Regions from separate parts of the Homo sapiens genome. Here region 1 is linked to region 2. Evidence: promoter capture Hi-C in human tissues and cell types (Jung and others, 2019). All regions are on one chromosome and are shown on one strand. The core of a region is centred on a gene start or on the middle of the fragment in contact, and the rest is flanking DNA. Distances in the headings are between cores, read along the strand shown. Region 1 overlaps FBN3 (fibrillin 3). Region 2 holds the start of FBN3 (fibrillin 3).

The links. The method cuts DNA at HindIII sites, captures the fragments that hold promoters and counts their contacts. A contact is called where the count stands out against the background at its distance.
Region 1: a fragment that was not itself captured here is called in contact with the fragment with the promoter of FBN3 in region 2 in 1 of the 25 tissues and cell types used here (pancreas).

Annotation. Positions count from the first base shown.
Region 1 is chr19:8,103,012-8,110,095 of GRCh38, reverse strand. It overlaps FBN3 (fibrillin 3), which reads left to right. Exons shown (of 64, transcript NM_032447.5): 35 at 343-465; 36 at 708-869; 37 at 1,858-1,926; 38 at 3,863-3,988; 39 at 6,409-6,534. Among named protein-coding and RNA genes, the nearest start is that of FBN3, 43 kb to the left of the region's middle. The HindIII fragment of the contact is 6,298 bases long and covers 1-4,840 here.
Region 2 is chr19:8,145,495-8,152,179 of GRCh38, reverse strand. It overlaps FBN3 (fibrillin 3), which reads left to right and starts at 2,588. Exons shown (of 64, transcript NM_032447.5): 1 at 2,588-2,731; 2 at 4,683-4,866; 3 at 4,994-5,076; 4 at 5,955-6,053; 5 at 6,242-6,337. The coding sequence starts at 4,700. RefSeq lists enhancers at 3,431-4,401, 4,402-5,373. The HindIII fragment of the contact is 21,800 bases long and covers 1-3,691 here.

The sequences.
Region 1 (7,084 bases), core at 442-2,941, 41 kb after region 2:
CGACACAGCAAGACCCTGTCTCTAAACATCAATAAATTACGGAAATAAAATAGATATGATTTTCATATGTTGACTGCATGGAACCCAGGGCAGGTAGAGTTCAATGAACAAAACTCTGCCAGGCAGAACAGAGCAGGAGAGGGAATGGGGTTGGAGGGGACAGGACAGACTGGAGGCTCCTGTCCCCTTAGGTTTCTTCCCAGGGAAGGACATGACATTGTCCCACAATCTGGTGCCCAGGAGTTGACCTTGAGCGAGGGCTGTAGCTTCCCAGGATGAAGCTAGGAGGGAGGGGGGCCGAGGAAGGGGCTCCCTGCTGAGGACCGCGCTTCCTCCCTACAGACATCAACGAGTGTGCAGACCCAGTAAACTGCATCAACGGCGTGTGCATTAACACCCCCGGCAGCTACCTCTGCAGCTGCCCCCAGGATTTTGAGCTGAACCCCAGCGGAGTGGGCTGCGTGGGTGAGTCCATGCTCAACTCCAGATCAGGGTTCTGGGGTCAGCAGAGGTGGGTGGGATTGCCCCACTGGGTTAACTCAGATGTCAACGTGTTCAAATCTACCTGCTCCTGACAAACGGGACATCTGCTGGTCTCCTGCAAGAGTGGTTGTCCTTGTCACCTGTTGAAATAGACACATGCATGCACACGCACACATACAGCTTTCCCTCTGACACCTACTAACCATCCCCTTCTGCCTGTTCAGACACTCGGGCCGGGAACTGTTTCCTGGAGACGCATGACCGAGGGGACAGTGGCATTTCCTGCAGTGCCGAGATCGGAGTTGGTGTCACCCGAGCTTCCTGCTGTTGCTCCCTGGGCCGGGCTTGGGGCAATCCCTGTGAGCTGTGCCCTATGGCCAACACCAGTGAGTCCCTGCGGGGCAGTTGAACACCGTGACCTAAGCCACCGAGGCCCGGGAGCTTAGGGGGTCACCTCTGCTAATGGCGGTGGTGGGGGGCTTAGGCGACAGGAAAACCAAGAACTGGGGGAGGAGAGGGGCTCATCCTGGGTCACACAGTGTACGTCTTGGTAGTTCATTGGCTGGGCCTCTCTCCAAGGTCGCTTTCTGTAAATTCTCTGTGTTTATAGTCACTTGATCACTCAGTCAGTCAACAAATATTGAGAGTTCCTCTGTGTCATGTGCTGGGGACTGGGGACTCAGAGAAGGATGAGCCACAGCCTCTGCACGCTGCTTCTCCCTCACCCTTAAATCAACAGTTTCAGGACTGTGAGAGTAGAACTGTCCTAAGGGTTTTCTTTGAGGCATACCCATAGCTCAGGAGAAAGCTGTGGGGAAGTGAAAGCTCTGGGGAAGGCTTTCCAGGGGAGGAGGCTTGAGTGAGGTTTTGAAGGATGTGTAGGAGTTTTCCTAGCAGAGTAGGGGGAATGATGTGCAATGCAGTGAGAACAGTATGTGCAAAGGCCTCAGGTGTGAAACAGGGAGGTACCTGTCCACCTATTCAGGTGTATGCGTGTGTGAATGTCCAAGGTCTTCCTTGCATGGGGAAAACTTGCAGTTACACTAGGATATGGTTTTGGATCAGAAGGAATAATCTTCTCTCCCTCCTACCCCCAGCCACTACCACATAACTCTGCTCACATGTTGAATGGGAACCCACATTTACACACACACACGCATGCACACGCACATGCACACACACACGCAAGCAGCCCCAGGACTGGCCAAAGTCTCTTGGCCCCAAGAGGCTAAAGAGATATGGGGATGTCGTTAGTACAGTAGAAGGATGGGAGCCCACTCTTGAGCCCTTTTCAGGCTTCCTGCTGTTGCTCCCCTGTTTCCCCTAAGCTTTGCCCCAATACCCCACCTCACAGGAGCCTGTTTCCCTTTACAGCTGAGTACAGAACCCTGTGCCCGGGTGGTGAGGGCTTCCAGCCTAACCGCATCACTGTCATTCTGGAAGGTGAGTTCCTGGCAGATCATCCATCCATCTGTCTGCCTAGAGACTGACTTTTCTCTCATCCCCACCTCACCAAAGTGTAGAGTTGAGTAGTTTTGTCCTGGGATGGGGCAGATCTTTCCACCTGGAGGCTGAGCAGCAGGACCACACTATGCTTTTAGTTTGTGTTTAATTTTTTTTATCTGTTCTTTCAGCCATTTCTTCCACTTGTTGGTTTATTGATCTTTTCATTTGTCCCCCATCCTTCCATTCATCCTCCATCCTTCTGTCCATTTATCCTTCCATCCACCCATCCTTCCATCCATTCATCCATCCTTCTACCCATCCATCCAGCCATTCATCCATCTATCCATCCATCCATCCATCCTTCCATTTTTTCCATCCATCCAGTACATCCATACATCCTTCCATCCAGCCATCCTCCATCCATTCTTCCTTCCATACTTCCATACTTCCATTCAACCATCCTCCATCTACCCATTCATCCATCCTCCACTCATCCCTCTCTTATCCTTTTATCCATCCATCTAGTCAACCATTCATTCCCCATCCTTCATCTATCCCCCATCTTTCTGTCCATTCATCCCTCCATCCATCCATCCATCCATCCATCCTTCCACCCGACCATCCATCCATTCATCCATCCTTCCACTCATCCTTCCATCCATTCATCCATCCATCCATCCATCCATCCATCCTTCCACTCGACCATCCATCCATTCATCTATCCTTCCACTCATCCTTTCATCCATTCATCCTTCCACCCATCCAACCATTCTCCATCTACCCATTCATCCATCCCCCCACTTATTCCCCTCCTATCCTTCTATCCATCCATTCACCCATTTATCCCCCATCCTTCATCTATCCTCCATCCTTTCATCCATCCCCCCTCCTTCTGTCCATTTATCCTTCCATCCACCCATCCTTCCATCCATCCATCCTTCCACCCAACCATCCCCCATCTACCCATTCATCTATCCTTCCTTCCATCCAACTATCCTTTATCTACCCATTCATCCATCCTTCCATTCATCCATCCTTCCATCCATCCCTCCATCCTTCCATCCAACCATGCCCCATCCACCCATTCATCCATTCATCACTCATCCCTCTGCTATCCTTGTATCCATCCATTCACCCATCCATCCACCCCCCATCCTTCATCTAGCCCGCATTCACCCATCCATTAACCTATTTCCCACTCTCCCATCCATCCATCTCCCACCCACCTATCTCTCATTCTTCTATCCATCTATTCACCCATCCATCTATCCCCCATTCACCCATCCATCCTCAATACATCCATCCATCCACTCATCCATCCACCCATTTCCCATCCACCCGTTCCCTACTCCCTTTCTATTCCCCCATTCATCCACCCTTCCATCCATCTTCTATCTCCCATCTATTCATCCATTCATCCATCCATCCATCCATCCACTTATCCACCCATTCACTCATTTGCCTGTCTACTCACCTATCCATCCACCTTCCTATCCATCCACTCACTCATCATCTTATTCATTGACCCACTTGCTTATTTACCCATCCACTGTTTCATATCCATGCATCCATCCACTCATCCATCCATTCATCCATCCTCCCATCCATCCTTTCTATAGGGAGTGACAAGGTTGGAGAAGACTATTCTCCATCTAGAGGAAGAAAACTATCTATTTCTCTATCTAGAGGAAACTATGTGGTGGATGGGAGAATGGACTAACAGATGAAGGGAATGGAGTTGAATTTAGGGTAACATTAACTCAAGAGAATCTGTGTCCAGCCATCAAGATAGACCCTTTAAATGTCTATCAGTCATGGACAGCACTTGGGGATCCTCGAGAGGGCCCTGGAGAACCCAGAGCATGGTGTGGGTGCCCCTTAAGTCCTCTGCATGGGTTTAGCTCCCAAGCTTGGCTTCCTTACTTCCTGACAGACATCGACGAGTGCCAAGAGCTGCCAGGGCTGTGTCAGGGGGGTGACTGCGTCAACACGTTTGGCAGTTTCCAGTGTGAGTGCCCACCTGGCTACCACCTCAGTGAGCACACCCGCATCTGTGAGGGTGAGCATGGATTCTCTTTGGGGTGGGTCAGGCTCTTCCGCTCTCTCCCTGCCTTCCTGCCCTGCCAAGCCTCACAAGGGTAGAGGAGGGAAGGCCTCATGGAAAGGCTTCTGCCCCCTGCCTCCTCTTTTGTCATGATCTGTCAGTTCTCTCTTGCTGCCTTTAAGATGTTCATGGCTGCTGTGGATCTGTGGTGTGGGGGATGGTAGATAGACCCTTTAAAATGCCACGACACTCCCTTATGAAGTACAGCAGCTTCCTTCTTCACCATATCTTTGTCTGGATGTTGTAAGCTTTTGACTGATTCCAGAGTTCTGCAAAAGTTTATTTTTGTCTGTTTTGCCAGCTCAATAGTTGCTTTTGTGGAGGAATGGAGCCCTGGAGTTCCCTGCTCTGCTATTTTTGGTGACATCACTCTTACCATGCTAATATTCCACTACCTATTTTTGCCTGCTAGCTAAGAATACTTTATTACACTTTTCTCAACGGTTGAAAAAACCAAAAGAAGAATAACATTTTGTGACACATGAAAATTATATGAAATTCAAGGCTGGGTGCGTGGCAGCTCAAGCTGGTAATCCCAGTACTTTGGGAGGCTGAAGTGGGAGGATTGCTTGAGGCCAGGAGTTTAAGACCCACCTGGGCAACATGGCAAAACCTTGTCTCTACAAAAAATTAAAAAAATAGCTGGGCATGGTGACTCACGCCTGTAATCCCAGCTACTTGGGAGGCTGAGGCAGGAGGATCACTTGAGCCTCGGAAGTCGAGGCTGCAGTGAGCCGTGATTGTGCCACTGTACTCCAGCCTGGGTGACAGAACGAGACCCTGTCTTAAAAAAAAAAAAAAGAAAAAAAAGACTGGGCACAGTGGCTCATGCTTGTAATCCCAGCTCTTTGGGAGGCCGAGGTGGGCAGATCACGAGGTCAGGAGTTCGAGACCAGCCTGGCCAACATAGTGAAACCCCATCTCTACTAAAAATACAAAAATTAGCCGGGCATAGTGACACATGCCTATAGTCCCAGCTACTCGGGAGGCTGAGGCAGGAGAATCACTTGAACCTGGGAGGCGGAGGTTGCAGTGAGCCAAGATGAGGCCACTGCACTCTAGCCTGGGCAACAGAGTGAGACTCTGTCTCAAAAAAAATAAAAGAAAGAAAGAGAGAGAAAGAGAGAGAAAGAAAGAGAAGAAAGAAAGAAAGAGAAGAAGGAAGAAAGAAGAAAAGAAAAGAAAGTTATATAAAATTCAAATTTCAGGGGTCCATAAATAAAATTTCCTTGGAGCACAGCCAGTGCCACAGTGTGTTTGCATATTGTTTGTGTCTGCTTTCTTGCTACATTGGCAGATTGAATAATCATGGCACACTGTAGTTTGGCCCGCAAAACCAAAATGTTCTGGCCCTTTACAGAAAAAGCTTACTACCCCTGGACTAGAGTAATGACCAGATTGAGAATCAATTTTTTTCCCCCAAGAATACTTTATCCATAAGGTCCTTGATTCCTATCATATCATATTAGGAAGACATGGATGATCCTTTCTTGGTGATTATAAAACTGACTCATGAACTCAGGTCATTTTGTTCCTAATAGAAGCAGTATCATCATCAACTTTATTTTTAGGAATTTTTTTTTTTTTTTTTAGAGCCAGTGTCTCACTCTGTTGTCCAGGCTGGAGTGCAGTGGTGTAATCACAGCTTGCTGTAGTCTTGACCTCCTGGACTCAGGTGATCCTCCCACCTCTGCCTCTCAAGTAGCTGGGACCACAGGCGTGTGCCACCATGCCCAGCTAAATTTTCATTTTTTGTAGAGATGGGACCTCACTATGTTGCCCAGGCTGGTCTCAAACTCTTGACCTCAAATGATCCTCCTGCCTTGGCCTCCCAAAGCAGGGATGATAGGCATGAGCCACTGCATCCAGCTTGTAAATGTTTTTTTTTTTTTTTTTTCACTTAATGTCATATTGTTTTTGTTCGTTTGTTTGTTTTTTAGAGCCAGGATCTCATTCTGCACCCAGGCTGGAGTGCAGAGGCGTGATCACGGCTCACTGCAACCTTAACCTCCTGGACTCAAGTGATCCTCCCAAGTGGCTGGGACTGCAGGCATGCACCACCATGCCCAGCTAATTTTTTAAAATTTTTAGTAGAGATGGGGTCTTGCTATGTTGCCCAGACTGGTCTCGAACTCCGGGCTCAAATGATCCTCCCACCTCAGCATCACAAAGTGCTCAGATTACAGGCATGAGCCACCATGCCCAGCCCATATTATAGCTTTCTTCATCACTAAGATGTGTGTGCGTTTTAAACTGATTTTGAAACCAAACTTAGGTCCCTGGTGAAGTGGCCTTGCTGGGTCTCTGGAGTGGAGTTATTCAGACAATTCCTGGACGCTGCCCACTGTTCCCCTCCACCCCTTCTTTCCCTGCAGATATTGACGAATGCTCCACACACTCCGGCATCTGTGGCCCTGGCACCTGCTACAACACCCTGGGGAACTACACCTGTGTCTGCCCTGCAGAGTACCTCCAAGTCAATGGTGGCAACAACTGCATGGGTAAGAAGCGTGATGACCTAGGGAACTGGCAGTCACAGAAGCAGCACCTGGGCATGGGAGGAACTGCTGGGAGCCTTCAAGCCTATGGAGAGGGAGGGTAAGCATATATGAAGTGCTGACATGTGGCAGTAAACAAAGCTGCAGGACTCAGGAGCCCAGAGCTGCCATGAACAGTTGCTCAGGTTGTGCACTGCTCAAAAAAGGCTGAAAAAAGTGAATGGATCCCCCAAGTGTGTTGGGGGAGAGACATCAAGCCAATCAAGCCAGCCAGTAATCTTTTTTTTTTTTTTTTTTTGAGATAGAGTCTCACTCTGTCACCCAGGCTGGAGTGCAGTGGCACAATCTCGGCTCACTGCAACCTCCACCTCCCAGGTTCAAGCGATTCTCCTGCCTCAGCCTCCCAAGTAGCTGGGATTACAGGCGTGTGCCACCACACCTAGCTAATTTTTGTATTTTTAGTAGAGACAGGGTTTCACCATGTTGGCCAGGCTGGTCTCAAACTCCTGACCTCAAGTGATCCGCCCGCCTCCGCCTCCCAAAGTGCTGGGAT
Region 2 (6,685 bases), core at 1,339-3,838:
TGATACCACATCAATAACTGGCAATAACATAACAGACCAGGGTGGCACCATGGGAAGTCTGAAACTACAGCACGCGGTGTGGACAGTAGCTTGGGTTGGGGGCTGTGAACAACCAATGCCCACTATCTGCCGTTTTCGAGCACTTCAGTTGCGGTGACTTCCAACAGCTCCACATCCTGGTCTTGCCACACCCTCCGGCTTCCTTCTCCCCTCTCTTCTGGAGGGCAGGTAGGGAGACTTCTAGGACTGAGTCGCTCCCTGGCCCACAGTTCTTCCAGGAAAGCCCTCCTCCAGACTTAGCCATGGCAACAGTGGCTGTGCAGTGTCCCTGGGATGGGACAATCTCTCCCCACCTTTTGCACCTATGCTGGGCTGCTTCTAGGGCACCCGGTGCTTGTCCCCGTGCCCATGTAAGATTCATTTGTTGCAGAACAAATCTGGGTGGACCTTGGCAGAGGAGCCTGGAAAGAGGTGTCCAAGGTGGCCGGGGAAACTGGTTTGTCCACAATAGCCCCTGGGCCCACCCTCCAACAGGAACCCCACCCCCCTGTCTCTGCTGGGCCACCTCCATCCTGGGGTTCCCTCCCCAGTCCACCCTCCCCATGCCCCAGCACCCCACCTGACCCTTCTCACAGGGTCCACGGGCCCCTCCCTTGGCCAGGATGACTGGATCTTGTCCCTGAAGTCGGCGTCTGTCCCATGCTCCCCGAGCCCAGCCCTGGGGCCCTCAATGCTCCCCGGACACAGTCTAAGACCTGGAAGTGGAGCCTTGGGAGAACCTCCCCTTTCTGTGAGTCCACCGTGTCTCCCCTCAGAGGTGGGGGGGGAGCCTGCTGAGGGCTCCTCGGTGCTTCTAGCCTCTTCTTATGTTTCCTGCTTTCCTCTTGCTCCCTCCCCTTCTCCTCTCTCCTAAAGTTCCAACCTCACTCCATCCAGGCATGTTTGTTCTAAGTTCTCTCCTTCTCCAGGCCTTTGCCTGTTCTGTTTCCTCCAGCAAACTCCTATGCAACTGTCAAAACCTACTTCAAAAATCCCCTTCTGGGCCAGACTCGGTGGCTCACGCCTGTAATCTCAGCACTTTGGGAGGCCGAGGCAGGTGGATCACGATGTTAGGAGTTCGAGACCAGCCTGGCCAACATGGTGAATCCCCGTCTCTACTAAAGATACAAAAAATTTACCGGGCATGATGGCACAAGCCCGTAATCCCAGCTACTCGGAAGGCTGAAGCAGGAGAATTGCTTGAACCTGGGAGGTGGAGGTTGTAGTGAGCCAAGATCGTGCCATTGCACTCCAGCCTGGGTGACAGGGCAAGACTTTGTCTCAAAAAACAAACAAAACAAAACATAAACAAAATCCTCTCCCTCCCTGCAAATTGTGAGTTTACCCTATTGAACTCCCAAAGCTGACTTGCTGAATATACTCCCACCATAGCACTTCCGGAATGGAGACAGGGTCTCCAATTTTTGGAGATAGGGTCTTGCTCAGTTGCCCAGGCTGGAGTGCAGTGGCACAATCATAACTCACTGCAGCCTCAACCTCCTAGGCTGAAGCAGTCCTCCTGCCTCAGCCTCCTGAGTAGCTGGGACTATAGATGCATGCCACCAGGCCTGGCTAATTCTTTTTAATTTTTTTTTTTTTTTTTTTTTTAGAGATGGGGTCTCACTATGTTACCCAGGTTAGTCTCGAACTCCTGGTTTCAAGCCCACTGGGCTTACTTATTTATTAGATTCCGGAAGTACTGTGGTGGGGGGATATTCAGCACAATCAGCTTTGGGAGTTCAATAGAGTAAACTCACAATTTGCGGATAGGGAGGGAATTTTTGAACTGGACTTTGACAGATGCGTAGGAGTTTGCTGGATGGAGTAACAGCTTCAGGCCCAACGCACAGCTTCTGACAGATCCCCATGTTAAGGGTCTATTCTCAAAGGTATGAAGGTAGTGGAAAAGCCTAGAAATTTTTGTTTGGAGTACTGACAACAGATAGGGAGCCAAAATTCTTGTCTGGTCCCTTTGGTAGGTGGACAAACAGGTTCAAAGAGATTTGAAAGTTTACACCGTTTGAATTGTTAACCTCTTCATTTTGAGAACCAGATGAAAAACCTGGGCCCTTCTCCCTGGGAAATACAGCTTTGCCCAATGTTTTGTCAACATATTTAGGGGCCCCTGATCTCAGCCTAGTTAAGAATCCAGGCTCCAAGAGCCAGGTGAGTTTCCAACGTCACTCTCGCAATTCTCCTTGCTCGAGGGAGGGGGTGGCGGCTTGGGAGGCCCTGAGAGGGCCGCCCAGGTGAGTCCCGGGACTTCTCTGCCCAGGCTGTCGTCCAGGCCCTCCAAAAGTCAGAGCCCCACCTCCACCTTAGTCTCGATCCGAAAACGCGGCCCCGGCAGCCCCTACTAGGCGCCCCCAGCCCGCCCTCACATCCCTCCAGTCCATCGGAGTTTTTCACTCGGAGCCCCGGACCCTCCCCCGAGCCGCAGCCTCTCTCCCCGCCCCGGATCGGAGCCCCCCGTCCCCGCCCCGGGAGCTAAGAGGTGCAAACGCGCCCTCCTCCAACTCCTCCCGCCCCCAACTCCCCCCCGAGTGGCAGCTCTGGGCTGGGAACGCGGCGGGGTCGGCCTCTCGGCTTTGCGTTCCCGCCCCGGGTCCCCGGCGCCGCAGGAGCCCGCCCTGCAGCGCTGAGTCCCGCGCGTCCGCCTGCCGTGCCCGCCTCCACGCGCGCCGCCTCGCAGGTAGGTGAAGGCGCGGGGCCAGCGGCGGGGCGAGATCGCGGGCGCTGAAGGGTGGAGAAGGCGGGGGCGGGGGGGCCGGCAGGGGGAGGGGGAGAGGATTCCTTTGTTCGCAGCCGGGCAGCCCCGGGCCCAGCCCCCTCCCCTCTCCGCCTTCTAGTGGCGCCCGCCGCAGTGGGGAGTGGGGGCGCGGGGACCCGGCGGGAGGGGCTCGGCCGGGGCGCGGGGCCCCTGACCCCACAGGTGAGGGCGGAGCCAAGCGTGGTCGCGGCCGGGGGCCCTGCCGGGTGGAGATCGCGCCCCGCGGGCTCCGGGGGCGCCCCCTCCCCGTCGGCGAAGCTTGGTATCCCTCGCTGTTTGGCCCTCAGCCTCCACACCCCGTGCCGGGCGCGCCTTCTCTGCTCATTCATTCCACAAACTCCAGGGTGTGGCTCGCAGAAGCAGCGGTGTGTAGGGGGGACCGAGGCAAATCAGGCCAGAGACTCCCCCCACCTAATTCCCCCACCCGACCCGAGGCAGGGGGCTGGGGCGGAGGGAGTGGGGGAGGAGGGCTTGCAAGCCCCGAGGCTGCTTGGAGTCCACGGAGCCTCAGAGTGCGGACTGACCCGGACAACTGAGAAGAAAAAGAGGGCGCCCCTCTCCAGCCAGCCAACCCTCCAACGTTGACAGGGGTCTCTCCCTTCTCCGGGGCCTTTGGACAACCAGGTTGGCCCAGAGAGGGGCGTGGCCAAGACCACACAGCAGGGCTCCCCGCCCATTCTCCACCTAGGGCCGGTTCCTTTCCTCCCTGGAACCTGAATGGAACAGGAAGGCCACTTGGTCTGGCTTCTCTCCCTCAAGTATTTTGCCTCCACCCTCCAAACGGTCGTCTCCTGTCCCGGTCTTCTCCCTCCCGTCCTTCATGGCCCAGGAAAGACCCAGCCAAGGGGGGCAGGAGCGAGTTCCGTTCCTGATCTTCTTCCCCTCCTTCTTCTCTTCGTGGGCTTAAGCTCCGGCTTAGCCCCTCACTCATGGTGTGATGGCCTTAGTTTGTGCATCTGTGAAATGGGCACAGAAGCGGTCCCTTCCCTGCTGGGCACAGGGTTACTCTCTGCATTGGGAAGTTCCAGCCCCTGCCTGGGCCCCCTGCCCAGGGAGGCATCCAGCCCTGACCTGGGAGCAGTGAACAGTCAGAGGAGGCTTCCTGGAGGAGGTGTGATGTTAGAAAAGGGTCTTGCGGCTAAGGGTGCACAGCCCAGGCAAGACCGGCGTGGGATGTGGAGGCGAGGGGACACAGGGCCAGGTGGGGCCAGGCATTGCAGGAGTGGGGGTATCTGTGTCACAGAGGGACAGTGGGGTTGTTGCCTTCCACGACTTACCATCTTCCTCCTACCCTGGACGCTCTCTGGGCTCCACCGTCCCAGCTAGAACTTTGGGAATCTCCTCAATGCCCTCCACCTCCCACGACATGAGCCTCCCATTCCTCTCCTCTCTCTCCCATCTGGACAGCCCCCAGCCTTCTGACACCCTGTTTCCCCCCCGGGACCCTGCTGCCCTTCCCCACACCACCTAACATGCATTTCTGACCTTGCTCCTCCCACTCAAAGCTTTTCAAGGGCTCTTCATTGTCCTTGACGAATGAGCAAAAGCTGCATGACACTGCTATGCCCACTCCTGCAACGCCTGGCCCCACCTGGCCCCACCTGGCCCTCTCTCCCCTCCCTTCCACTTCCCACTCCCGTCTTGCCTTGGCTGTGCACCCTCAGCCCCAAGACCCTTCTCTAACATCACACCTCCTCCAGGAAGCCTCCTCTGACTGTTCACCGCTTCCCGGTTGGGGCTGGATGCCTCCTTGGGCTCCCAGAGGCCCCGGGGCTGCCCCATTTGGCAACCACCCTGCCCTCCTCGTTGTGTTGGGTCCCCCATGGCTAGGGTGGGGGGCTCATCTAGGGCTGACTCTGCTTCCTCTCCGCAGCCTCCAGGGGACACGCCATGACTCTGGAGGGTCTGTATTTGGCAAGGGGCCCCCTGGCCCGGCTCCTGCTGGCCTGGTCGGCCCTGTTGTGCATGGCAGGTGGCCAAGGCCGCTGGGACGGGGCCTTGGAGGCTGCAGGTCCTGGACGTGTGCGGAGGCGGGGCAGCCCAGGCATCTTGCAGGGGTGCGTGGTACCTGGGATGCTGGGAGACCCCTTCGGTGTGGATTGGGCTGTCCTGGGGCCAGCGGAATACCCGGGGGGATGTCCACACGGGCAGGGGCTCACCAGACCCATCTCGCTGTCCCCGAAGGCCGAATGTGTGCGGCTCCCGGTTCCATGCCTACTGCTGTCCAGGCTGGAGGACATTCCCTGGCAGGAGCCAGTGTGTCGTACGTGAGTGCTACCGCCGTCTGGAGGTGGGGGGGCACAGGCCGGGGACACTCTTACCTGCCTGCAGGTTCAGCTCTGTTTACACGGGGACTTAGCCAGGGACCTCTGGCTGAACCACAGGAATGGCCCTTGCATCTGCGTCTGTCCTCAGGGTTCCAGGCCAACCTGCCATGTTCATTTCCTTTGCCCTACAACCTCCTTGTGTCTGTCTGTCTCTCTGGTTCCCTTGCTTTGTCTCTGCCTCTCTCTATTCATCTCTGCTCATGTCTCTCTCTGTTGGTTTCTTTTCTTTATTATTATTATTTTTAGAGATGGGGGTCTCTGTGTTGCTCAGGCTGGTCTCAAACTCTGGCCTCAAGCGATTTTCCCATCTCAGCCTCCCAAAGTGCTAGGATTCCAGGTGTGAGCCACTGCACCTGGCCTCTCTCTGTTGGTTACTGTCTCTCTATCTAACTGATTCTCTCTCTCTCTGTTTCTCTGAGTCTCTCTCTGTTTGTCTCTCTCTGGCCTCACCCTCTCTTTCTGTTTCTGTCTCTGGAATCTGACTCCACTTCCCAGGAGACACCCAACCTCAGTATCCAGGACCCCAGCACCTCCAGCTCTGTCCTCACAGCTCAGCAGCTCTGGCCCAAAGAGCATTCTCTCCCCATGGCTCTAGCAGAGTCCCCAACCCACAGCCTGGGTCACACACCCTGCCCAGCCCAGCCCGAGAGTGGGGGGACATCCCATGAAAACAGGGGTGGGGTGTGCTATGAGCAGAGCCGGGGATGCAGATGACCAGCAGCGTCCACTGAGGTGTTCCGGCCAGCCCGGACACCAATGGAGCAGGGACGGCCCAGGCTCGGTCCTGGTCTTGACTGCCACCCGCTGCACTCATCCAGCCATCTGTAGGCGCGCCTGCGGTGAAGGCTTCTGCTCCCAGCCCAACCTGTGCACCTGTGCGGATGGGACGCTGGCTCCCAGCTGCGGGGTGAGCCGAGGTGAGCGGGAAGCGGCCTCTTGCGGGAGGGAGAAGAAGTTCACAGGGTTCTGGTTGCCACGAGGAGCCTGGGCTGCTTTTGTTGAAGGACAGGAGCGGGGCTGAGCATGCCTAGTCCTGCAGCCTTCCTAGGAGGGCATCTCGGGGCCCATCTCCACATTACTATGCGTCCTGCCTTCCTGTCCCCAGGGTCAGGGTGCAGTGTGAGCTGTATGAATGGGGGCACCTGCCGGGGGGCGTCCTGTCTGTGTCAGAAGGGCTACACAGGCACCGTGTGTGGGCAGCGTGAGTATCCCCATGGGACTCCCCTCTTTGCACACCTGGGACTGTGATCCCAGAGTATTAGTCTCTGCTGCCACCTGCCCACTGCCCAGGGTTCCTTCTTCCTGGACTGGAGATTGCAGGGGACGTTTATTGCCACAGTCTCTTTTTTTTTTTTTTTTTTTTGAGACAGAGTCTCGCTGTGTCACTCAGGCTGGAGTGCAGTGGCAAGATCTCGGCTTACTGCAAGCTCCGCCTCCCAGGTTCACGCCATTCTCCTGCCTCAGCCTCCCGAGTAGCTGGGACTACAGGTGCCCGCCACCTTGCCTGACTAATTTTTTTGTATTTTTAGTAGAGATGGGGTTTCACTGT